4 separate regions of the Homo sapiens genome follow, and regions 1, 2 and 4 are each linked to region 3. The links are contacts of gene promoters, found by promoter capture Hi-C in human tissues and cell types (Jung and others, 2019). All regions are on one chromosome and are shown on one strand. The core of a region is centred on a gene start or on the middle of the fragment in contact, and the rest is flanking DNA. Distances in the headings are between cores, read along the strand shown.

The links. The method cuts DNA at HindIII sites, captures the fragments that hold promoters and counts their contacts. A contact is called where the count stands out against the background at its distance.
Region 1: a fragment that was not itself captured here is called in contact with the fragment with the promoter of LRP1B in region 3 in 1 of the 25 tissues and cell types used here (mesendoderm cells).
Region 2: a contact is called between a fragment that was not itself captured here and the fragment with the promoter of LRP1B in region 3, in 1 of the 25 tissues and cell types used here (hippocampus).
Region 4: a contact is called between a fragment that was not itself captured here and the fragment with the promoter of LRP1B in region 3, in 2 of the 25 tissues and cell types used here (H1 embryonic stem cells and hippocampus).

What each region holds. Positions count from the first base shown.
Region 1 is chr2:141,926,734-141,930,807 of GRCh38, reverse strand. The region is part of intron 1 of LRP1B (LDL receptor related protein 1B); the gene reads left to right. Among named protein-coding and RNA genes, the nearest start is that of LRP1B, 200 kb to the left of the region's middle. The HindIII fragment of the contact is 5,827 bases long and covers 1-4,074 here.
Region 2 is chr2:141,903,228-141,907,245 of GRCh38, reverse strand. The region is part of intron 1 of LRP1B (LDL receptor related protein 1B); the gene reads left to right. Among named protein-coding and RNA genes, the nearest start is that of LRP1B, 230 kb to the left of the region's middle. The HindIII fragment of the contact is 4,185 bases long and covers 1-4,018 here.
Region 3 is chr2:142,129,385-142,133,616 of GRCh38, reverse strand. It overlaps LRP1B (LDL receptor related protein 1B), which reads left to right and starts at 2,601. Exons shown (of 91, transcript NM_018557.3): 1 at 2,601-2,969. The coding sequence starts at 2,888. RefSeq lists an enhancer at 1,534-2,733. The HindIII fragment of the contact is 3,160 bases long and covers 522-3,681 here.
Region 4 is chr2:141,978,795-141,982,872 of GRCh38, reverse strand. All of the region lies in intron 1 of LRP1B (LDL receptor related protein 1B), which reads left to right. Among named protein-coding and RNA genes, the nearest start is that of LRP1B, 150 kb to the left of the region's middle. The HindIII fragment of the contact is 6,484 bases long and covers 1-4,078 here.

The DNA.
Region 1 (4,074 bases), core at 877-3,376, 200 kb after region 3:
GTCAATTTTCTTATCTCTAAAGTGAGAGTTTGGCCTTGAAAATTATTCAGTCTTTTGCTTTTAGAATACCATGAGCTTAAATTCATCAGATAAGAAGAATCAAATACCTTTCCTAAAGTGTAGCCAAATTGGTCTAAATCTCAAACCAGCAAGATGAGTTAATCACTGACCAAATTAACCACTTATCCCTTCTGCTCACCCACCACAGTGACTGGTATACATTTTGGAAGATGGTTAATTTTCTCAAATTACTGATATTTGAACTATCACTACTGACCATTCTACTGCATAAATCAGTGTGGCAGTTCACTAAATAGTCCCTGAGTGTCTTGGAAAGTGATGTACCTTTGAAGTCCCCAAGGAGTAACTCACTTGGCAGAGTCTCATCTAATAATTATGGCATTTAGGACAGATAGATGTATTCTGTGCTGCAATGAGTGTCCCTTGCTGGCTTAAAATGTCAAGTTTTGTTTTTAAAAATGTAAAAATTAAGCTAAGGGGAATATGGTCATTATAATGATGAAGCTCAAATACTTAAAATCATTAATATCTTTTATGGAGGAACTGGTTATAACTATTACTTAGTTTAATATTTAAAAGTCCCAAGACACTAGCATGAGCCAGAGTTTCAGCATTTTACATTCCTAAAGCATTTAAAATCCAAGATGTGGTGGTTTGCATGTGCCAGAATGTGCCACGGGTTCCTGGAAATGACATGTAGTCTTTGAAAAGCTCTTTTGGGCAATTGGTAGATAAAATGATTAAGTCCTCATTTGCCAGGGTCATTTATTAATAATTGTATGGGTTTGGGTCCTCATGACATTTTGAAAGTCATCCCTATCTGGGATTCTTGTGCTGCATTAACTGTCTTTTTTTTTTTTTTTTTTTTTTTTTTGTTTCCATCCGCGGTTTCTCCTGGCTTGACTGTAGGCATCTGGAAAGCAGAGACTGTATTTTACTCATCTCTGAGACCCAGATGTTAACCTTGTGCTCAGTTCATGCAAACACCAGTATTTGTGGAACAAACAAAAGGAATGTCATTTTCACATATTTAGATGACACTGTAATTGCATACGTTCTGTCCTAAGAAAGAAGAATTTAAGGAAGCCAGAGCATACCTGAGATTTAGGAATTTTTAGTTTATAGCATTTTACTTCCAAAATAAAAATGATAGTGAAAGTTTAAAATTTTAACTCTCTAAAACTACAACAGACCGTGATGAACGAAGCAATCATTTTCCCATGAAAGAGTAAACAGACAAATCACATGTGTAAGGACTGAGGAAATGCATACCTACGATGTTGTGGTTGTGCTTCTGTCTTTTAAAAAAAATGGTTCAATCTGAAAAAAAAATCATTTGCATGCCTGTTATATGTGATTGACTTCTCCACTGTAACATCAAATAAAATAATCAAATTGATGATTCGTAGCTATATGATGATAGGAATATTAAAGTATGTGACACCCTATGAAGTGCATTGTTGACATTTTGTGTGCATGTATTATGTGTGTGTTATTACAGTTGTTATTTCCTGGGAAGGAATGGTCGTGTACGTTAGTGGAGGTTTGTATAGCTTTTGGCATTGGAAGTGGTCTCCTAATTTAGTCTTAAACCTGACAGTATTTTTCATATGTGAGTGTCTCTGGAGCATTTGAAAAAATAGTTTATCCTTACCTTTAAATCTTCTGCTAACTATATATTTCAACTTCTGGGTAGCTTTGATGATTCTAGACAAGTGGCTTGCCAGACACCTAGGTCAGGATCCAGGCAAAAATGAATCAAACCACAGACCCTCTAAGGCAGCTGTCTATTTCTCAACAGGAATATGCTCTCCTACAAAGATACTTTTATCAGGTTAACAATGTGGTATCAGGGAGATTTCAGGGCTGTACCAGGCCAAGCTAATAAAGGTCTATAGTGAAGTTGAGCCACAGTCACCCTGACTTACATGTTTTTGCTCTTGACCAAGAATAGCTGAGGTCAAAAGTAGAGGACTTACTTGTCACAGTGATCTTCTCCTGCCTTTCCTGCTCCAGTCTTTGAGTTGTACTTTTGATTCTATTTCAAGACATAAATTCTGCCATATGAGCCTGAAAGATTTCATGAAATTGCCAATTTCATGCTTCCAACATGCCAAGTTCTGAGACAGTTTCAAAGCCAAATCCAGAAGCAGATATGAGCTCTGAGTGATATGGTTCTGCCATCAGATACCAATATGTTTGACTCAGAATGTCTGCCTTCAGATGTACATGTGATAGCAGTAGGTCTGTAAATTTTGAATGTACCTTTGAAAGAACAATATAAGCATTAACAAATTACAAAATATACAGTATTCAGCCAATGACAGTTGTTGTTTCAAAGCCTTTATATTATTACTCTCACTTCCTACAGACCCAAATAATGGTCTACAGGTTTTATTTTTCATATGTTTCAATGCCATGATATTATTTAAAAATATTTGCGTACTTCTGTGCATACAATGTACAATACAAAAATTAATAAATAAAAACCTCTCTATTAAAATGTAATTTCTGAGGATAGGGAGAATATATTCAACTTAAATCTAAATGCATATGAAATCCTTTAAATATTGTTCCTTTCCTGAACTATATGATGGGGACAAGGTCATCAAGACTTGCCCTGTGGCAAGTTGCAGGGCATGTTTGGGCTGCTGCAATGGAAGCTATTTTTTTCTGTAGTCAATGTTGTCCCACTACACTTTGGGGAGAATGAATGACAGCATAGCCCTACTGGAGTGAGCTGAACATAGACAGCTGTAAACAGGAAGGGACAGGAAAAATTCCTGAAGGATGCATGGTAGATGGTAGAACATCAACAGCTTTAAAACATGGCAGTGTTTTGTTTTTTTTTTTCTTTCTTTCTTTCTTTTTTTTTTTTTTTTTGTAAAGCCAAGTTGGAGTTTCAGTTTGGCTAATGCTGCTAAGGACAGGATGACTATTATTGATGCTGTAGCTTGGGGGGAAGATGGGGAAAAGCAGAAGACACATGTAATGTTAGCAAGTAAAACTCAAGAAGGATTTATGATTCTTCCATCAGTCTTTTCATGCAAGTGCAGAAAAGCCTCATCAATGGCATCAGCAGGCTGCCATATGTATTAGTCAGAGTTCTTAGCTGCAACAACTGAAAACTACTCCAGTTAACTAAAACAAAGAAGAAATGTATTGAAAGATAGCATAGAAAAATGGAAGCTTGGAAAAGTAGATTAAAAAGGAATCAAAAGAAGCATGGCACTGATTAGGATATGCCTACAGGTACTTACCACTCATGAGTAGCAAAATCAATGAATGTCTACCATATAATAAGAAAAATATTATCTGATGAGCAAAATATGGACATGTTTTGCTCTAAAAAGTCAAATTCTTTTTTAAAAGATGAAGAAAAGTAAATTAAAATTTTATAAAAATATCGTTTACTTTTTAAAAATTCAAAACTTTAGACAAATTTAGACAAACAGGTAGAGGACAGTTCTGAAGTTTACTTCTTAATGGTGTTCTCAAAATTCACAACATTTACCCATAGTTCTTATGGTATATGACTGTTTATAATAATTCAGCAGTCAAATTGATGTATGATGGTAATCTATTAGGGGAATGGGTCATCATTTTCTTTCTAAAAGTATTGTAATCTAACATCTTTTAAGAAGCAATCAACAGATATTCATTGATTATGTAGTATATGCCACATAGTATTTAAGGTGCCATATGGAACCCTTACCTTTAAGAGGTTTATAAACTAATCAAAGAGGCAAAAGGTATGATTCTGATTCAGTAAATAACAATCACACTAACAATCAAAGCAGTCTACTTTCTAAAGAGAGTCTTTTTAAAAATTTGACCATTATTCTGAACCTAATTTTGTATCATATGTACATACATTCTTTATCATTACAGTAAAGGTTTATGAAGAAAAAAATAGTTCACCTTGTTAGGATAATCACTAAGTGATCTTAGGACACTCTTTGTATTGACAACGTTGTGGTTAATATAGCTCAATCCCCAGGATCGATTTAGCAAAAGGAGATGAAATTAAGGAATATTATCTATTTGAAGGAA
Region 2 (4,018 bases), core at 725-3,224, 230 kb after region 3:
AAAATAAATTATTTTGAATACATAAATTCATGGAAATTTATTTAAATACTTCTCCAAAAATAATTGCTTGGGATTCATTACAATGCTATAAGTAGAGCAGATACACAGTAAAGCAGTTTAGCTAATTTCATATCCCAAGTTTTATGCCAACTGAACTATACATTTGATTGTATTGATTCTGAAATTCCTCTACAGCACCACCCCTGTTGAACTGCACACATCCCTCTATAAATACAATCTGTTTTGAAGGTGTAAGTCTTTTAGTTATTTTCTAAAGTTTGCCAAAGTGGCATGTGTCTCTGCCAAAATGGGAAACATGGGACGATTTTTGTGCCTCTAGGTGGCTCTAAAATGGCATGCCACCATCTGCCACTGGGCATGTTCTAACGATAAACATTTAACATGCTGTATCTAGTTTTACAAGATTACAAGTATTCTGAGTCTTTGTCTACTTTGTAACCACAAAGAAAGTTAACACACAAACACACTTACACAAATATGCATGCACACACCAAAACACACACAATGAAGCTTTTACATCAACTGTTTCACTTAAGGAGAAAATTATTTTATTATAATGCTTTGCTGTTTATGTGATGTTAATGCAATAATCAATATACTATCAACAGGAAGATGAGCAACATAAAAGTCACATCAGTATCTTCTGAGGTAGATTTCTATTTAGTTTCTTCTTCAGAGGTATTAAAATTTGCAGATTCAGTATTGTAACAATTAAGATAAAAAAACTTGTTTGCTGTACACTGACTCACAGGTAATCACTGACACCAGGTTATCAAAACTTTCTTCGAAAAATATAAATATTTGAATGCAATTTATGTGAAAAGAGTAGTTTGCTTTGTTTTATACATAATCCAGTATGGTGAATTGCATATACGAAAAAAGAAGAATGAAGTAGATTCTCACCATGGACACTCCATAATTTGTGTCGTGTCTATATCATGCATTGTTTTTGTTTTTTTTTGTTCTGTTTTGTTTTTCAATAAGAATATGAGGTACAGTGTTTGAGAACTTTTTAAAAAAATTATTTTAGTGTACAGACCTAAAAGTGCTCTGTATGTTTCATTACTGCTCTTTTGTTTGGTGATAGATCCCTGCCTCAAATAAATACAGTTCTATTTTAAATTCCCTCTCTCCCTCCATCCCTCATTTTCTTCCCCCTCCCACTTGTCTAGTCCTTTTAGAGATGTATATACACACAGACACACACACACACACACACACACACACACACATCTCTTGTCTAGTCCTCTTAGAGATGTATATACACAGAGACACACACAAATTTCTTATCTAGTCCTCTTAGAGATGTGTATACACACAGACACACAAGCATCTCTTGTCCTCTTAGAGATGTATATACACAGAGACACACACAAATATCTTGGCTAGTCCTCTTAGAGATGTTTATACACACCTAGCCACACACACACACACACACACACACACACACACACACACATCTATTCAAACCAGATCCATTTTCTCCCTGTAAGATGGTTATATGAATGAAGGTGGCTTGATTCTCACACATGGAAGCATTCTACTTAAGTATTACCATGCTGACCATGGTTCCCCTTTGCATCCTCCTTTCCTCCTCATTCAGCCCTAGATTCCTTTCTTGATCAGTATCCATACTCACTTCCAATCATGCTTAAGTTTATCTCCAATTTCTCCGTTTGTTAGAACCATCACTTGACAATTTAAGACAATTGTCTTAAATTTTGCCTGCACCAAAGCAGCTGACTAGTTATAACTTGAAAAAAAAAGTACAAAACCTCGTTGATTGGACTCACTTCAAAATTTATCATCACAGATCTCAACTGAGCCCTCAATACTGCCAAGTATTCCCATGATTGTACTTTTTAATAAATTCACCTTTGCACTCTTTATGTTAACTCTGTTCTCTAGCTTACTTCGTTATCTCCATTCAACTCCTCAGCCTTCCCACCATTACAGCTAAAGAAGATGCCTTTGGAGCCAGCCCTGCCCTTTGTCCTAGACATTATATTTTCTCTTCTCTCAAGTATTTGAATCCAGCAATTACCCTCTAAGCACCAATTCCTAACTCTGCGGAGTTTTTCATTTCAATGCACAAAACTACCTTAATATCATCCATCTTAAAGAAAAACAATGCACCCTTTACCTCTGGACTCCCATTATTCTGATCTCCGAATTAGCCGTATTTTTAAAAATATTGTCTATACTATATGAATGTTCTTGGTCACTGCCCATTGTCTCCTTAATTCAGTCTAATTAGGCTCTAGCTCCCATCATTTTTCTAGTTAATGAAAACAGTCCAGAGTTTACCCAAGTAGGTGGTCAGGTCTCTGTCCCTGTCTTATTAGACTTGTCAGCCGCAATTAAAACAGCGTACATTTCCTTGTTTCTTGAAATGTTTTCTTGTTTAAACTTCCATGACATGACATTAGTCTGTCCTGTTGTCTGTGTCCCTCTAGTTTCTCTAACCTTTGCTAGGTTGCCTTGACCAAAATATTTCATAATTTTCAATTACCTGAGCTTGTTTCCTCCTAGCTATCCTCTCTCTTGCTTCATTCTTTCCATAGGCGATACCATTTAGTTCATGTCACTGCATGTCACATTGAATTCCTCAAATTTAGATGTGGAGTCTGGACCCCATCTCTTAAAATCAGACTGAATATCCACTGCCTCACCAAGGTCTTCACTTGTATAAAGAATAGACTTCCAAACCTAACAGTTCCAGAAAGCACTTAGACATCCAAGCTCCAAATCGTATGCCCTCCAGAAGCCCTCCTCATTTTAGCAAATGGGACAACCACACACCACCTTTACAGGATAAGGCCTAAGATATATCCTTGATTCTTCCCTACCCTCTTGCCTCACACCCTTGCTATCAGTAAGTGCTGGTGGCTGAATCTCTACAAATCCACCCTGAGCTGACCACGTTTCAGCATTTCCAAAGCTAAAATTGAAAGCTACACCATCATTGTACCCAGCCTGGACTACATAAACAGCCTCCCAACTGTTCTCCCTGTCTTCTCTCCTCACTTCCTACAGCTCATGGTCCATATTGCTACCACTGGTCTTTCTGAATTATCTATCACATAATTTTGTTTCTCTGCTTAAAATCTTGTAATTGTGTTTTATTTCACTTGGCATAAAATCCAAACTTGACATATGATTCTATGCGTTTTTGCCTGTGGCTCCACTATCATATCTTTCCATTACCCTTCGTGCTCTCTGGTGTTTATTTCTCCCAAGGCCCCTGACATTGATCTTGCTTCTTCTCATGATGTTCATTCCCCAGATGTTTTCGTGGCTTCTCCATTCATCTTCCATGATGAAACTTGAACATTATCCTCTGATTACCCTAAACAAGTAACTGGTCCATCAGTTACATCTACCACGTAACTACCACATTACTTGTTTCTTTATAATACTGTTTAGTAAAGTTATTTGTTATCACATTTTTGGTGTGTTTATGGCTCCTAACTCCCAACCCCAAATCTGTAAACTCTTTGTAGGCAAGAAAACTATTTATTCTTTAAACGTTTCACCAATGCCTAGTGTACTGCCTAGCATGTAGAAAATGCTCAATAAATTTAATTGCTTGACCGACTAGAGCAAAATAGATTAATTATTCTCAGTATTTTTTTAATTAAAAATTCCATCTCATTCACAACTTAACAGATGTTAAAATATTAACTGTCTTTTCTTGCTGGTATTTTCTAATTTTTCCTATACCAAAGAGGCTCCAAAAATTTGTTTTTATGAATATATTATTCATGGGAGGGTCAGTTTAGTGGCAGAGTTAGATTTTTTAAGATAGTAGAATTTCATGAGATGGAGTGAAAGCTCTAGTTAGACATGGACCTCAGAGCTGGAAGCCCAGAATCCAATCCAGATTTAACAATGGCTTGTTGCACAGCATGGAGAAGTTGATTTACCTTCTTATAACAGTTTCTTCTTTAATATATAGATTCAGTATTAGTCAAGTCCCAACTATACAGATAGGGAT
Region 3 (4,232 bases), core at 1,352-3,851:
CATATTTACTATCACTATTTTATAGTAACTGTTTTGAGTCCTATGTCATTCATGATTACTGACTTAATTGGTGATTACTTAAGAATTCTATTTTGCTTTATTATTCTGGTCACAATGTGCAGACAATGCATTTTTGATTTTTTTCCACTCAATGAAATAAAAAAGTCAACCAGATGATCTAAAAAGATCATATGGTTTTTACTCTGGCTAATTCATTTAACAGGCTATTAGGAGGCTCTACGTATTTGGAATGTTGTATATTTAGAATACAAAATCTCCTGAGTATTTGCTACTCTTATGATCTTTCCTAGCTTTTCCCTTTTCCAAGCTGACCATGGAATCTAGGGCTGCTGCACGTACTACAGAAGTGAATGAGTTAGTGATTTTTAATCATAGCATTGGGGCACTTTAGTATGTGGTAAAAGTCTTTGGTGGGTCATACTGTTCCTGGCTGCTTTCCTTTACTTTGCAGTGAAGTGGAGGGCGATTGGTGGTAATCTTTCAGAAGAGGAAGAATCTGGATGTCCTTAGTATGGTTTGTAAGCACTCCTCATTTTCTTGCCAAGAGTTAAGTGGATACAGATCTCCTAATAGCTGACCTTCTAGTTGACTGAATGGGATCATGTAAGAAAGACACCTGCTACGTTGTCCCAGTGAATAAGTTTGTCATACAATACAGAGGTCTGTGGACCCTCGAGAAAGAAACATTTATTACTTGGCACATCATTCAAATCTCTCTCTGTCTCTCTCTCTCTCTCTCTCACACACACACACACACGCGCGCACACACACATATTCTTTAAACTCTGCCACTCATTTCAAAGTTTGTGAATTTTCAGTATGAAGTAAAATATGTAAAAAAATCTTTTTATTCTATATTGTACACTATATTATGAAATAATAAAAACATCTAGGAAAAATTAGACATGTAACAACTTTAGAAGAAAAGAAGCATACACTTCTCTACTAAAAGTACAAAAAAATTAGCCGGGCATGGTCGTGGGCGCCTGTAGTCCTAGCTACTCCGGAGGCTGAGGCAGGAGAATGGCGTGAACCCGGGAGGTGGAGCTTGCAGTGGGCCGAGATCGCGCCACTGCAATCCAGCCTGGGCAACAGAGAGAGACTCCGTCTCAAAAAAAAAAAAAAAAATTAAGCATACACTTTTGAATGTAGGAGTCATATTTCAAACACAAAATGGTTGTATTTTCAAGGGAAAGTAAACTTTATAATTTAAAACATGGAAAAAGTGACATAAAATACATTTATAATCACAGAGTAAGAATAAAAAGGTGAAATCCACAGATTATTGACAATGTTCTGCAAAGTCATCTCTGTGTTCTTTCATCTAGTCCAGTTTTTAATGGCTTCAAAGGAGCATCTAAAGATATTTCTGGATAATTTTACTCTCATAAATAGGTAGATAGTAATGCTGGCATTCACTTATAAGTCTCAAACAGCAAAGTAAATAAAGCTTTTAAAGCATCTTCCTTCACTTTTCAATCGTTCTCTTCCTTAGTTCTGTTCCCTTCTCATAGTTTTCCTCTCCACTCATGTCCAGTTTCAAAATATTAAATATAAAACCTTTTCAACTCTTGTTCTTAGAAGAGAATTCCTGATGTTACAAGGAAGAAAGTAAGTCTACAACTATTAAGATTTCTGAGTTTTAATTCCGTAGCCACTTTGTAATGGCAAACTAAAATTTTAGGGACTGGGATGATCATGTTGTAAACTTAAGTGGTCATAAAAACAACTTTACTAATATTATTATTCCAGTGATTCCCGTTGATGCCTCCGATGGCTCGGGAAAGTTCTTACACCGCCCCTGTAGTATATGGAAAAGGAAAACAAAACAAAACACAAAACAAAAACAACAAAACCCTCAAAGCCTGTTTAAAATGGCTCGAAGTACCCTTTTAAAGACAGAACCCCAGAGAAAAACGCTGCCAATTCGTTGCTTTATTGTTCCCTGCCTGGGGACCTCAATAGCCTTTTCCATTAACCTTCCCTTCTTACGCAACGGTTAATGACTTTGGGGGTTGTTTTGCTTTCTGTTTCTGCTGAGTCACTAAATTTTGCCTCTTTGTCCCCAGGTGCTGCTCAGCATAAAAGTTAAAAGTGCAATTCAGGAAGTACTGGGATTCTGTGTAGAGCCGAGGAAACCATTTCCCTAAGAGAAGCTCTGTTCCTTGGCTTGTCCTTCCTTCCCGGGAAGGAAGCTTCCGAGGAACGAAGGGAGAAGCTTTGTTTTGCCTGCAGAAGCAGCCCTGTGCTCGGCTGAGGGTTCTCAGCTGGCTGTGAACTGCGGAGCATTGTAGGCGCCTGGCTGGCTCAGGCCAATGCAGAAGTCTCTCCCTTCTCCAAAGACCCAAATCCCCACAGAACCAGCTTCGAGTTACTTTCCCTTCAAGGGGATTAAAATAATTGTGATTTGTGGCGCTCTCCGTTCGCGGTGGTATTTTCCTGTTGTGTTAAATGCCTCTTATTAAGTAATAGATGTGATTTATGTGAACGACGAAGGGGTGTGTGGTGGATTCGGTGATTAATCAGTGAATTCCCATCCGCTGGCATCTCTCACTGCCCCTCTTGCGTGATGTAAGATCAGACGTACCCTGCATTGAAAAGTCAAGACACACGGGCGTCTCGCTCGCGCTCACACACGCTCTGCCTCCTCTCTCCCGCACGCGCGCATCCCTCCACCTTCCACATCCTGCTCCAGGCAGGAGAAGGCTGACTGGCTGGACTCATTGAGCTGAAGAATTTCCAGTGACATTTGTAAATGACGCCGCTCGATTCCAGGCTCCAAGCGGCCCCTGCCGCCGCCGCCGCCGCCGGGCCGAAGGTGCCGCCGAGCAGTCTCCAGCGCAGGCTTCCTTACCGGGCGACCACAATGTCCGAGTTTCTCCTCGCCTTACTCACTCTCTCGGGATTATTGCCGATTGCCAGGGTGCTGACCGTGGGAGCCGACCGAGGTAAGGAGAACACCTCCCCGCTCCCCTCCCCTGACTTCCTTGGCTTTCCTGCTGGGCGATGCTTGCAGATAAGTGAGTGTGAAACTTAAGTCCTTGCAGCTCCGCTCCCCGGGACCGGGTGACCACCGTGCGCTGGCCCTGTGCGGGGGTGAGAGGTGCGGTGCGGGATTTCTGAACCAAGTGCCTGAGTCCTCGGCACCCCCACAGCTTTTCCCTTTGGCCGTTTCCCGGTCCCCATTTTGTCCCCTCCGGGAGTGTGTGCACTTGGCTGTGCGCTTCTGTCCGCGAATTCTAAGCGCTGCAGATGTTGGAATGAGAATTCGCATTTCCGAAAGACTTCCCTCCGCGATGGCCCTCAACTGCGAGCTTTTGCGAGCTCCAGGTTCTCCGCGTTAAGCGTGTCCGCCCTCAACTTAGCTCCCAGGTTAACTTCCTTACCTGCTGCATTCGAGGTCCGTGGAGCGGCGAAAGCGCCGATTCAGGCCCCTTTCGTTTCTATAGCCCCTTCCTGGGGGCAGACTGGGGTCAGAGTCCTGTCATCAGCAGAGAGGCTTTTAGGACGATTCCGGGCGCACGCACCTGCTTGAAATTGACTTTTCGATTATGAGGGTCTGTGACACAGCCCAGGTGCTCTGAGGGGCTAACCCACCCCTGGAGTGCCTCTCTCCAGTCTGGCGCTTTGCTTTTCCTTTTTCTCCAAGCAGCTGGTGAATGGTAGAAGTTTAGAAGGGAATGGATATGGGGAGCAGAGGAGAAAGGAGGTAGGAATTAGAAAAAGCCGGGATTCTATAAACTTTTCATCTGGAAAATCAAGAATCCCTGTGCGAGTTTAATAATCTTTGACAACAGATGCACTGGTGAAAAAGGGAGGAAAATACTAGATGAATATTTGGGGCACTGGCCCTGGCCTTGGAATGGTTAACTGGTTAAAGTAAAATCAGAAGTATCATAGATTTTTTTAAAATCAGAAAATGAGCTTATATTGACTGGTATAGTTCAGCTTTTTAGTTTAAATAAGAGAGAGAGAGAGAGAGAGAGAGAGAGAGAGAGAGAGAGAGAGAGAAAGAGAGAAAGAAACCCAGATCCCAATGCCAAGCAAATAGGCAGAATGTTGCATTGGGAGATTTAGTTATTGTATTTACATGAAGCAGATTATGAATTGACAAAAAATATTGCTTCATTATAGGAAAGAACAGGGGAATGAACTGCAGTGTTTCTATTCAACCTGCTGTTGGCAGCCAGATTCTAGCCTTTGTAACATAC
Region 4 (4,078 bases), core at 530-3,029, 150 kb after region 3:
GATGCTCCTTTTCAAATACTACATTGTTCTAAATATAAACTTTATTCATACAACTTTTCAGGCCACATTTTGAAGTCACGCTGTCTTATACATAGAAATGACTTTATTTTCAGGCAAACAGGATCCTGTTATGTGAATAACTAAGGTGAGACAGTGCAAGTTCTTATGATTGTTCAAACAATTTAATGCAAATTTTAGGTTAAAGTACAAGTGTTTTCCTTTTCTTAGATTACAAATACATAATACTTCAATATTTCCCACTGAATTCATTCTGTAAAAAGATCATAATAGCCGAGTTGTTCACAGAGATAGAGCAAAATTAGTTGTGGTTTTAGCGTTCAAATATAATTAAGAATGAATATATTTCACAGTGGGCAGTGGTATTTGCACTGTAGGGCTTATATCATCTGAAGTCACTCTAAAGTGTCTCCTAAAGACTTCCTCCTCCAGGAAAAAATCTCTAATGCTTTACTTTTATCATGAAGCCTTCAAGCTCTGTATTGTGTTTGTTGTGGCTCCATATAGATCTGCATAATACATGTTTTAAACTAATCTTTGGCAACTAAAAATACTTTCTTGAATGCTTGTTCTAAATTAGATTTCCAAAGAATTTGGACCATGGGTTTAGATATCAGTCAGCCATTAGCCCACTAGAGCCTTAAGACATTGTCTCCACCTACCCACCTACGGAGAACTGTACGGATTGAGTTAGCTATAATCTACACTACAGGCATAGGTTGTGGAGAGGTTCTATGTTAATTAGGGAAATGCGAGTTATTATTAAACAAAAAGCAATATTTAAGGATCTGAATCCCCCCAAAATTTTTACTTGGTCAGTGATAGTCTAACATGGGTATTTCTGGTGATTGGAAAGGTGAAGGGCTCTGCTCCATTCTGTCTTTCAGGAATCTAAGAAAATGGAGGTTCTGCCATTTTCAAAGACATGACTTTCATTGTCTCCTGGGATGAAGGTGGAGATACCCAGCAAACAGAAGGGAGAGCAGGGAAGTAGGGGAAAGACACACCTCCTTTTTAATTACCTTGACTAGAAAAGAAAGACAAGCATCTCTTTTGCTTATATCCTCTGTATAAGGACTACTCACATGGCCACACTTAAATGCAAAGGAAACCTAGAAATCCAGATTTTGGCCAAGAAGCCACTTCTGGCACTAAATCTGCATCAAGAAAAAAGAGTAAACATCTATGTGATCTCCATGCTTCCATACTTGTTCTCCCTACTACTGCCCATTCTCTGTGCAGCACCTAGAATGTTATTTGAAAAATACAGATCAGTTTATTTAAATCCCCTGCTTATAATCTCGAACACAGAATAAAATGCCAACTCCTAATCAAGACTGTAAGGGAGTGATTCTCTGGACCCCTCTTAACTCTGTGATCTGATATGCTGTCCTTCTCTCTCTTGTGCCTCATATTTTAGCTACACTTAACTTCTTTCAGACCCATTTCCATCCCAGGAATTATGCAATTACTGTGTCTTTTGCCTTAGTTGATCTTCCTGAAGATCTTCACGTTAGACTTGTTATCATTGAGGTTGCAGGTCCAATGCCTAATCCTAAGAGAAGTTTATCCTGACCACCCTAACTAAATGAGCAAGCTCCCAACCAGCCATTCTATACCATGGCCTTGTTTGATTCTCTTACTAGTATCTGTCAGTCCTATGATACATAGTACCATAAGATTGTATAACTGATCTGGGCAGTAGATGGTCTCTTCTCATCACTCATTTTACAAATGAGGAAACTAAGCCCCAAATACATGCTGACTTGCTTAAGGTCACGCAGTTGTTAATGGCAGAGCTGAGACCCATAATAGATATTTCCAACTTTTATTTTATAAAATATTTGGAGAATGTAAGATATAATCACCGAATATTTGCCTGCATAAATTGGTATTTTTTTTTTCAGAGAGAAGGAAACCTGCTTCTTAACAGACAATAGGTAGGATGTAGCTTTTAAATAAATACCAGGTTCAGAGACAAGTGAAATGTCAAAGTGAACATAGTCTTGAGTTGTGCTGTCCAATCCAGTAGTGTCTAGCTATATGGGGCCATTTAAAATTCAGGAAAATTCACAGTTGATTCTTAATTAACAGTTACACTAGCAGATTTTGGTTCCCAGTAGCCACATGTGGCAAGTAACTTCCACATTGGACAGTGCAGGGAAATATTTCAATCCTCTAGAAAATTAAATCTGATAGTGCTGTCCTATTGATTTGTCTTATACTCTCATCTGGTTTGTGATCCTTGGTTTTGAATTTCATAATTCCCATTTGCTTTCTAATTATTTTTACAACCATCTTTCCAGTTTCTCCACTGAATGTCAGATACAGGCTTTCAACAAAGCAGATGAGGTGAGATGGGGAGAGGGGTAAATCTCTAGTAAAAATGTTATTCATAATTTGTATTTGTGATAATATATATTTTGATGAAAATCTGTGGTTTTCTTATATCATTGTATAAAATAGGACAATAATAACTTAAACCCACGTAATTGTGCAAAGCCTTTCTAGGACATTTTATTGTAGCATTGGGGAACTGCATCATAAGGTTGGTGGCCCTCTATCAGGCAGTCGGGAACTGTTCATGTTATTCCTTTTCACCTTTGTTCTAGTTGCCTAGTGCCAAGGACAGATTTACCAGTTTACTGATTTCCAAGGTAATGAGTGACATTCCTAGATCTCTCAAGGGCATTGCTAATAACTCAAGAGTAAGCAGTTCAGCTTCTGTTTCTTAGGCTTTATAATTGGTGATGCTCTTGTTTCTCTCACTCATACTAGAGAAAGAGTAATTTAGGATATTCAATGATTTGGACTATTGTATCAATTATACAAGGTGACCTCAAATATAAAGAGGTTCTCCGTTTATCATTCTTGTTGTGAAAAACATATTAATGAGTGAGAACAGACATGACAGAGTAAAAACCAATTACAAGAACTGGAAAATCATGTCAAAATTAATATTCTTCTGATAATGGGCATGATGATCACTGTCATTTTCTAGGCTTGGATATGCATGGTTTGCACTTCACCTGCAGTTTTTCCTCATCCAATTTGGTAAGCAGTTCTGAGGCAGTGTCTGAACTATTGCATTATCCTAATAACTATACTTTGCCCAGGCCTGAAAAAATAATTTAAATGGAATATTCCTGACTTTGTCACTGAAATACAAATCAACATTGTATTTCTCAGTATGTATTTTAAAGGGGAACATTGACTAATGGAAAAGGAAACACACAAGACGGCAAGATAACTGAAAAGAAGGTTGAATGTAAATATGAAGACAAGTAGAAGGGAACAAGGGTGCTTTTCTTGAGGGAGAAGAACCTGAAAAAATATAAAATAAGATTCTTAATATGTTGGTGAGTCTACCATTAAAAAGTGGTTCTACCTAGCCTGTGTAATTTCAAACATCCAAATGCGACAAAATGATGACAAATACATGTAGATAGACTTTACATCAATATAAGTGTTAAATGTTTGGTAGTGTCATCTTACTACACTGGTTTTTGTTCAAGCACTAATGAAATTCCTGCCTGTTAGGAAAGTTTGAAGTATTCATATTTGGGAGATAGTTTTCTCATAAACATTTCTATCTCTTTGCTTTCTTCCAATTGTGATATCCTATAATTACTAATTGTGAGGAGTTGTACAATTTAGGTCCAGATTTAAAGAAATATAAATATTTAGGTAGAATTGATTATTGACATCTAATTTTATTCATCCTTATTATTTCATAGCAAGTAGATTTAAGAATAGCTACTTCATGGAAATAATTGTCTTTATAACTTTATATGACTCTCTTAGGCCTTTTCCATCTTTTTTTAATTCTCAAAAACTATAGACCATTGGTTTGCCAGACTTACCTGTTTAATTTCATTCTGTTAAGTCATAAGATGGTCAGTTTTCTTATCAGAAAAAAAAATGTCTTATTCTCTTCATTTTTTTCTTTCACCCAATTTCTTCTGTCAGAATCATGTTAAACATATACACAAAACGTACATATGCACATGTATTCATATCCCACATCAATGCTAGAAGAACAAATGTAAAAACAAACCTA